3 separate regions of the Homo sapiens genome follow, and all the other regions are linked to region 2. The links are contacts of gene promoters, found by promoter capture Hi-C in human tissues and cell types (Jung and others, 2019). All regions are on one chromosome and are shown on one strand. The core of a region is centred on a gene start or on the middle of the fragment in contact, and the rest is flanking DNA. Distances in the headings are between cores, read along the strand shown. Region 1 has its middle 4.6 kb from the start of MIR4293. Region 2 holds the start of SUV39H2 (SUV39H2 histone lysine methyltransferase). Region 3 overlaps FAM171A1 (family with sequence similarity 171 member A1).

Region 1 (2,996 bases), core at 396-2,895, 490 kb before region 2:
GATGTGAACTCAGAGCCTGCCCAGCTCACTGTGCTCTGGCAAGCTACATTCTCTTTCCCTGACTCAATTATCTTACCCATAAAACGTGGCATTTGGGCTAAACAATACTGAAACTGTGTTAACCTTACAGTGACATTACTTAAACCCTGGCAGTCAAAGAGAAAGTAGAAAACGATGCTTTATATCTGTGTTGTCTCATTCAGAAGCCACTAACCACATGTGGCTACCTAGCACTTGAAAGGTGGCCCGTCCAAATTCAGATGTGTTGTAAGCACAAAACGCACACTAGACTTCAAAGATTTAGTATAAAAAATGTACATTTCTCGTTAAAAATTTTTATACTGATTTCATGTGGAAATAATATTCTGGATATATTAGGTTAAATGAAATACCCTATTAATCATTTCGCCCATTTCTGTTTACTTTTCTTAAATGTGACTACTAGAAATTCTAAAATTACACATGTGAGTTGCATTTTGGACAGCACCATTCTATGCTATTATTAGTACTGAAATTCAGCTACATACTTCAGACTATAATGCATAAATCATTGATTCTACATCCTTTCCTGAGTTATCCAAACTCATTGTCAAATGAATCCAAAAAAGGTTCACTAAAGTCGATCTAACTACAATGAAACTTCACTATGAATGGATGCCCATGTAGACATTATGCAGTTTTGTTTCATAACCAATGGGTTTTAGGTTAAAACTATTTCTGAGAAACAAAACAATTCCAGCATTGGAAAATGATAAGCCTAAAACAAACTCAGTAGAGACCAGAAAGACATAAAAAGAAAGGGGCCAGGCGTGGTGGCTCACGCCTGTAATCCCAGCACTTTGGGAGGCTGAGGCAAGCGGATCATGAAGTCAGGAGATGGACACCATCCTGGCCAACATGGTGAAACCCTGTCTCTACTAAAAATACAAAAATTATCTGGGCGTGGTGGTGTGTGCCTATAATCCCAGGTACTTGGGAGGCCGAGGCAGGAGAATCACTTGAACCAGGGAGGTGGAGGTTGCAGTGAGCTGAGATCGCACCACCGCACTCCAGCACTCCAGCCTGGTGACAGAGCGAGACAGTGTCTCAGAAAAAAAAAAAAAAGAAAGGATTTCTTTTCTATTATAGATACTGGGTAGCCCTACGTGCTCCTCTAAGCCCCAGATATAATATCTGTGCTATGGGGAAAGCAAAAAGCATATATTTTCTTTGCTTCGTTCATTTTGTTTTTTAAATTTTATTTATTTATTTTTTTGAGATGGAGTCTCAGTCTGTCATCCAAGCTGGAGTGCAGTGAAGCTATCTCAGCTCACTGCAACCTCCACCTCCAGTGTTTAAGTGATTCTCGTGCCTCAGCCTCCTGAGTAGCTAGGATTACAGGAGCCCGCCACCAGGCCTGGCTAATTTTTCTATTTTTAGTAGAGACAAGGTTTCACCATGTTGGCCAGGCTGGTCTCAAACTACTGACCTCAGGTGATCCACCTGCCTCGGCTGTGGAGGAAAAGTTAAATATTAGATTTGAACTCAGTTGAACATGGACATAACCAATGGACACCAAGTCCCAGAACAGGTTGTATGAGCCCTTTGAGGCTTTCATCCAGCACTGTTTCAGAGAAATCTTTATTTCAATCTATTCCTATATGTTAGTTAGTGAAAAACAATAGACAATCACAAGAATAAGTTGACCTTTTTGTGTTCCTTGACCACAGCAATGAAGAGCCCTCGTGACTGGACCTCATGCCAAACAACTCGCTACAAAAAGAGCTAGGTTCCCAGACTGCGCCGAAGCTTCATGAGACCTCTCCTCATCTGTGCACAGAGGAGTGGCCGACTCTGGAGCCCAGGCGGTCGCTTCCCGGTCTGGTGCTGAATCCTCCATAGTCTGGTGAGTGCAAGTATCTTTTCCCTTCTCCCCTTCCCATTGCAATTTGCTTATTATATCACTTGCTTATTATATCGTTTGCTTATTATATGGTTTGCTTATTATATCTGCATTGTCATTTACAGGGATAAAAGTTGTTCACCCTTAAAGGTATTGTGTGTGTGCCTTTTCTTCTCCTCTCACGTGTTTCCAGCACAGAACATCGGCCTCCCAAAGTGCTGGGATTACAGGCATGAGCCACCGCTCCCGGCCTGTTTCATTCATTTTAGAAATGACCAAATTGTGAGCTGAGATGAAGGTTGGGGTCTGGTAGATTTGTAGAAAGGAGAGAGTGATAACAAGTGTGGGTAAAAATAAGTGTCCGTGGAAGAAGTGAGAAATTTGAGGGAAGCAGAGAGAAACCAGGAGAGAGACCTCGGAGGTTGCTTGCAGGGTCAGCAGCGTCAACATCACCTGGGAACTGGATGGAAACACAGATTCTGGGGCCCATCCCAAAGGGTTAATATGGCGGCACTCAGCTGCTATCCAGGACTTTTTCCTGTTCGTGGAGTCTTGGAAGAACACTCCTCTAGGGCTGGGGTTTCCAAGGTGTAGATCTCTCAAAGCTTTTCTTGAGAAATCCTGAAGCCAGTTATCGTCCTCAACTCTACATCAATGTCCCACCTCCATAGATCACCTGGAATTATTAGATTGGTGCAAACGTAATTGCGGTTTTTGCATCGTTGGAATTTGACATTTGATATTGGATACATTCTTAAATAAATGTGGTTATCTTATACATCATTTTAATGGGCATTTCTTGCTTTATGTTTTTTGGCTAATGACTTATTACTTGCTGTTTATTTTATGTTTATTTTAGACTGTGGAAATAATGTTAGACAAAAAGCAAATTCAAGTGCTTTTCTTATCCGAGTTCAAAATGGGTTGTAAAGCAGCGGCGACAACTTGCGACATCAACAATGTATTTGGCCTACTGTACTAAAAAACATATAGTGCAGTGGTGGTTCAAGAAGTTTTGCAAAGACGAGGAGAGCCTTGAAGATGAGGAGTGTCGTGGCCAGCCATCGGAAGTTGACAAAGACCAATTGAGAGCAATCGCAGAAGCTGATCCTCT
Region 2 (2,800 bases), core at 301-2,800:
CTTATCTCAAGGTAATGAGATATGGAATACAAAATTTACTAAGGACTCAAATCTTAGAAACATGTCTGAGAAATGCAGTTGCATTGAAACACACACGGACTGCAGAACAGTATTTGTATTATGATGCCGTTTGTAGCTAAATAAAGTCTGGGAGCATGAGTGTGTGTGAGGAAGTGGTGTTTCCCATCGTAGAAAATGATTAAATATTTAAAAACGAGAAGTTAAAAAGAAAATCACTCCGAAAAGGCTATTTCGTTATTTTCCTATACATTTTTTTCTTCCATAGTTAAAACTATATTTCAGGGGGATTTGTTTTGGTTTTGCTGAATACTAAAAGCTTCATGAACACCTTTTTAAGACGGCTAGACAGTATTTCATAATGGAATCAAATAATTAACTATTCCTTTAATGGTCTGCGTTCATTTCCAGTATTTCAAATTTATACATACTGCTTTGAAACGTTTATGTAATTTTTTACATGAATTTTTTAAGGAGATATCAAATGGCCTTCTGCCAGTTTTCGTTATTTGCTCTAAGATTTCTGCTTTAGGTTGTTTAGAACAATCATGGATGCAGCGTCAAGAATGGGTGGGGGAGGGGGGTGGAGACCAGGTGGGAGGCCCCTGGAGTCGTCCTGCAGCTTCCTTACTAACGTGTCCTTCTCCTCCCGGCCCCCACCCGCCACCAGGCCGAGCTCAGGAGCTTGGCAACAACATGGGAGGGGAGCTCGGGTCCCCTTACAGACCTACCCAATCCCAATTTACATTAAAGTTGAGCCCAGGAGGTCTAGTCTGCAGTGAGCCGTAATCGCGCCACTGCACTCCAGCCTGGGTGACAGAGTGAGACCTCATCTCTTAAAAAATTCCAAGTCCAGCTCCCCCACCCCCGACGATTCGTAAGCCCCTTTAAGTGAGAAGCACTGATGTGGACCGGTGGTTTCCGCTGTGCCGCACATTAGGATCAGCTGGGAGCTGGATAGCACAGGCCACACCCCACACCAACCAGTCGGAATCCCGGCGACTGCCCCAAGCCAGCGGAACCTCTCCAGCCATGCCCACGTGCAGCCGCTTCCGAAGCCCGGAGCTCTAGAGGGAGCGGTGTCGGGGGGAGACTAACCATGGCCCACGGGGCTGCGGTAGCTGCGGAACCGTACCCGACAGGCAGCGTCCCCGGCTCCCTAGGTCCCCGCTGCCCGTGTCGGATCTCGCAGTGTGCGAGTGCTGCCGAAGTAAGACGTCTCCAAAGCGCAAAGTCCTGGCCGACGTCTTCCCGAGTGAAGGCGCCAAACGGGCCTGGCGAAGGGAAGGGGGCGCCGGACACTGCCGAGGATCCGGGAGCACGCGCGCTCGCCCCGCCCCGCTCCTCGCGCTTGGGGCCGGGCCTAGCTTTGGGGCGCAGGCGCGCTGGCCGCCGCGGCGGGGGGTCGGCCGCCAGTGACGTCAGGACGCCGTGCGGGTTCCGTCCCCCAACAAGCCCCGGCCCCCAAGTCCCGCGCGGGCCGGCCAGGGGCGGGGCGTCGGGCCAGCTGAGCTATCCCGTCAGACCGCGCCAGTTTGAATGAAAGCTCTACAAGATGGCGGCGGTCGGGGCCGAGGCGCGAGGAGGTGAGGCTGGAGCGCGGCCCCCTCGCCTTCCCTGTTCCCAGGCAAGCTCCCAAGGCCCGGGCGGCGGGGCCGTCCCGCGGGCCAGCCAGATGGCGACGTGGCGGTTCCCCGCCCGCCGCGACCCCAACTCCGGGACGCACGCTGCGGACGCCTATCCTCCCCCAGGCCGCTGACCCGCCTCCCTGCCCGGCCGGCTCCCGCCGCGGAGGTGGGCACTGTCCGAGCCTGGGGCACTTCGGAAGTGGAGCGTGGCCTCTCCGCCCGCTCGGCCCGGCCCCCTCCGCGTCTCCCGTGGCGGCCTCGGGCTTCGAGGCCGCTCCCCGGCAGTCCCCGGTTGGAGGTCCGGGGGGCACGGCTGCGACTGGCTCCTTTGTGGTGGTTCGAGCGCGGCGTGCGGCATGCGCCCGGGCCTTTGAAGTGGGAGGCGGGAAGCGACGCCCGCCGGCGTGAACATGACCTTAATATCAGAGGGGGAGAGTAAATCGGGGCGCCTGTGTGCTAAGAAAGGGGATAAGCGAGGAATCCCCCCCAAGGCGGACACGCTAGGAGGTTGAGTGCCTCGTTGGAGAATCGCCCAGAAAGTGGGTATTTGAGGTTGCAGCCTCTGGCTTACGGTAACTCTTTCACCCACCGGGAGCTTGGTGTTATTTCTGTGGACGCTGGGGAATTGGGCACCGGGGAACTGGGCACCGAGCGCGCGTGGGTGTGGGCGTCGGGGGGTGTTGGTGTCGCGCACGCTTTGAGAGCCTGGAACTTTTCCGTGCGTTCCGGAATGTAAAGGTGTTTTCAAGCTCGTCTCCTCTCCGCTGGGATTATGACCTCATTATCCCTGAATTTTTCTCCTTGGAGAATGTCAGGGGTTACTGTGAACCAGCGGAAGGTGTTTGTGGTGGTCATGAACTATTTAATTTTGTCAGTGAAATCTTTTTCTGCATTACTGGAGACTGTCGAGAGATTGTCTTTCTTTTTTTAACCACGTGTTTGCAGTTTTTCATGTTCACTTTTTTTTTTTTTTTAATTTTCAAAGAGCATTTCCTTTGCGGGTTGTGTTTTGAATCCTCAACTAGATAAAAATGTTTAGGAAAAGCACACAAACACACCTTGAGTAGATAAGAGGAACCTCCTTTATACGTGATTCCCTTAATGAGGTCAGCTTAACACAAAACGTTCTCTAGTTTTTGTAGATGGAAGGGACT
Region 3 (3,130 bases), core at 339-2,838, 340 kb after region 2:
CGAGGTTTCAAGCACTTCCTCCTGCGCCCAAAGACACAATCCAAAGCCAAAGATTAGTGATTCTCACAATGAAAAAGTTTCAAGTTTCAGGTAAAATCCTAATTCTCAATTTCCATGGGGAGAGACAAAACAAAACAAGTCAGGAGCAGCCAAAAGCCTTCTCACCCCACGCCCTGTCTTTTTTTTTTTTTTTTGAGACAGCATCTTGCTTGCTCTGTCGCCCACGTTGGAGTGCAGTGCTATGATCATAGCTCACTGCAGGCTTGACCTCATGGGCTCAAGTGATCCTCCCACCTCAGCCTCCCGAGCAGCTGGCACCGCAGGCACATGCCACCATGCCCAGCTAATTTTTGACTTTTAGTTTTTTTGTAGAGATGGCCTGTGTTGCCCAGGCTGGTCTTAAACTCCTGGCCTCAAGCAATCCTCCCCCTTCAGCCTCCCAAAGTGCTAGGCCTCCATGCCTGGCCCTTATCCTTATTTTATCCTTATTAGAGTAGGATAATCGAGAGATTTCATCTTTTACTGTCTGGAGAGCCCTTTGCCTAAATGAATTAAATGTATGACATTCATTTTTCTATGACTTAAAAAAGTCAACAACTTATTAAAGAGTCTCAAACGTGACTAAAATGCTTTGCATTTTTAAAAATAAAATTTTTCCTCTATAATGCCTTTTTAAAACAGCTAAACTTAAAGGCTTTTATAAGCCAAGTTACTTATTTCAAAGGGGTTACTCAAGAGTTGACAATAAATATTCTTGCAAACTAAACAGACACGGCATCTAAATAAGAATAATTTTTTTTTTTGAGATGGAGTCTTGCTCTGTTGCCCAGGCTGGAGTACAGTGGTGCAATCTTGGCTCACTGCAACCTCCACCTTCTGGGTCCAAGCAATTCTCCTGCCTCAGCCTCCCAAGTAGCTGGGATTATAGGCGTGTGCCACCATGCCCAGCTAATTTTTGTATTTTTGGTAGAAACGGAGTTTCACCACGTTGGCTAGGCTGGTCTCGAACTTCTGACCTCAAGTGATCCGCCCACCTCGGCCTCCTAAAGTGCTGGGATTACAGGTGTGAGCCAACGTCCCTGGCCCAAATAAGAAGAGTTCTGCTTTGCCCTTCAGAGTATCATCTCTTAATCAGCGTTCAGGAATACTCTGAATAAATCAGATGACTATTGTTAAACTCTTTTTCATAACTCCCCTTCTAAGCAATGTTATCCACGCAGCATGCTTTACACATACTATTTGTTAAGTTGCAACTTAGATCACAAATGTGAGTTCTTACTTTTTCATGGGAAGAAAAAGTACTTCAATTTAGAAAAATTAAAAAAAAAACCCACCTCCATATTAATGCTTCTAAGTATCAATTGCCCAAGAAACTGTGAATTAAAAAAGATATTGCCAAAATGGTAACACTTTACCTGCAATAATATAAAAGGAGACACAGCAAAACCAAAAGTATGAAAGCCATTCCTCCTAAAATGGCCAAAAGAAACACCGTGTGATACGTGGTAATGTCCTGTGTTACAACGGGACCTAGAAGGTCAGAAAATGGCATTTAGAGTTTTGAACACCTTTAACTCAAAAGAGGGATCATTCATTGAGAACGCAGTGTCTTGTGCTTACTCTTCTTAGCTGGGGCATAGAGCAGTGGCCAGAGGAAAACGCCCTTGGATCATGCACTTGGGGTACCACCAGCATTGCATTAGTGATTAGCATGACTATTATGGAAGCTCCCACAGCCAGGAGAACTTTGAATACTCAAAGACAAGATGTGGTTACGTCAAGGGCCCCTCCTAAGCGGAGAAGTGCGCCTCACTTGGTAGCATGTGCCGCATTTGAAATACATGATCTTTTTAATTTTTTTTTTTTTTGAGACAGGGTCTCATTCTGTCACCCAGGCTGGAGCGCAGTGATACAATCATGGCTTACTGTAGCCTTGACCTCCTGGGCTGCATCAATCCTCCTGCCTCAGCCTCCAGCATAGCTGGGACTACAGGCACGCACCACCACACCTGGCTAATTTTTATAAATTTTTTTTAGAGGCAATGTTCTCACTATGTTGCCTAGGTGGGTCTTGAACTCCTGAGTTCGAGCAATCCACTGCCTCGGCCTACCAAAGTGCTGGGATTATAGGCATGAGCCACTGTGCCCAGCCATATGATCTTTTCATACAAGAAAATGAACGCATGACGATATAATGACTGGGACTCTCACCTTCAGAAAGATGGCCTATCTGGGAATTTTATATTGCAGTGAAAAAAAAAAAAAAAACCCTACAAAGTTTTATTTTCGCTTTTCCCGGGCAGTCAATCATTACCGTCTGGAGAGCCCCTAGCCCAAATGAATCAGTTTAAATGTATGACATACATTTCCTGTGACTTAAAAAAGTCAGCAACTTTTAACACTTAATACAGGTATCAAATATGACTAAAATGATATCCATCTTTAAAAACAAGATCTTTCTCTACAATGGCTTTTCAAAATAGCTAACCTTACGTGGCCAGAGATCTCTTTAGAACTTATACATAAGGTTATCAAAGATAAAAATATTTTAAGTTTATGTTGTAAAAAATCCCAAGAGGTAGCTTAACTCACATTTTATGTTCCGTAGTAGTACAAATCTATCTTAATGTTACTAACAACAGATCAGCGACAACAAAAACCTCCCAACATTCCAATATTTAGGTATTTATTGGTGTCCGAGTTTCCTGGCAGTGTATGAATACATGGGTCGAAATGAACTGGCCTCATATTATTTCAGGGTAGCATGGCTATGATTATTAAACACCACAGACACCCATTTGCTTATTTTTGATTTTTGACATTCTAAGACATAGACTTTTTAAAAAATCTTCTTAAGGGGACAAATCTCCTAATTTAAGACCTAGATAAACCCAAGATTTACCAGTTTTTGAAAACAGTGATGTTACTTAAATTCACAAGAAACACCATTCTCTTTCAGATATAATTACTTCAATGGAGTGCGAGGAGGGGGTTAAAGTTTACAAAAATTGGAAAAATAACTGACAATTAGATACTGGCTTACTTGTTCAGAGAAACAATTTTTTTTTTTTTTTGAGACGGAGTCTTTGCTCTGTCACCCAGGCTAGAGTGCAGTGGTGTGATCTCAGCT

What was found. Contacts are between HindIII fragments. The study calls those that stand out against the background at their distance.
Region 1: a contact is called between a fragment that was not itself captured here and the fragment with the promoter of SUV39H2 in region 2, in 1 of the 25 tissues and cell types used here (dorsolateral prefrontal cortex).
Region 3: a fragment that was not itself captured here is called in contact with the fragment with the promoter of SUV39H2 in region 2 in 1 of the 25 tissues and cell types used here (hippocampus).

What each region holds. Positions count from the first base shown.
Region 1 is chr10:14,386,346-14,389,341 of GRCh38, forward strand. No RefSeq gene overlaps it. Among named protein-coding and RNA genes, the nearest start is that of MIR4293, 4.6 kb to the left of the region's middle. The HindIII fragment of the contact is 4,354 bases long and covers 1-2,996 here.
Region 2 is chr10:14,877,316-14,880,115 of GRCh38, forward strand. It overlaps SUV39H2 (SUV39H2 histone lysine methyltransferase), which reads left to right and starts at 1,551. Exons shown (of 6, transcript NM_001193424.2): 1 at 1,551-1,604. The coding sequence starts at 1,574. SUV39H2-DT (SUV39H2 divergent transcript) reads right to left here and starts at 1,344. Exons shown (of 1, transcript NR_186426.1): 1 at 1-1,344. RefSeq lists a silencer at 1,285-2,024. The HindIII fragment of the contact is 4,398 bases long and covers 1-2,800 here.
Region 3 is chr10:15,214,581-15,217,710 of GRCh38, forward strand. FAM171A1 (family with sequence similarity 171 member A1) reads right to left here. Exons shown (of 8, transcript NM_001010924.2): 7 at 1,416-1,530; 8 at 1-21. All of the region lies in intron 1 of FAM171A1-AS1 (FAM171A1 antisense RNA 1), which reads left to right. Among named protein-coding and RNA genes, the nearest start is that of FAM171A1-AS1, 7.6 kb to the left of the region's middle. The HindIII fragment of the contact is 7,240 bases long and covers 1-3,130 here.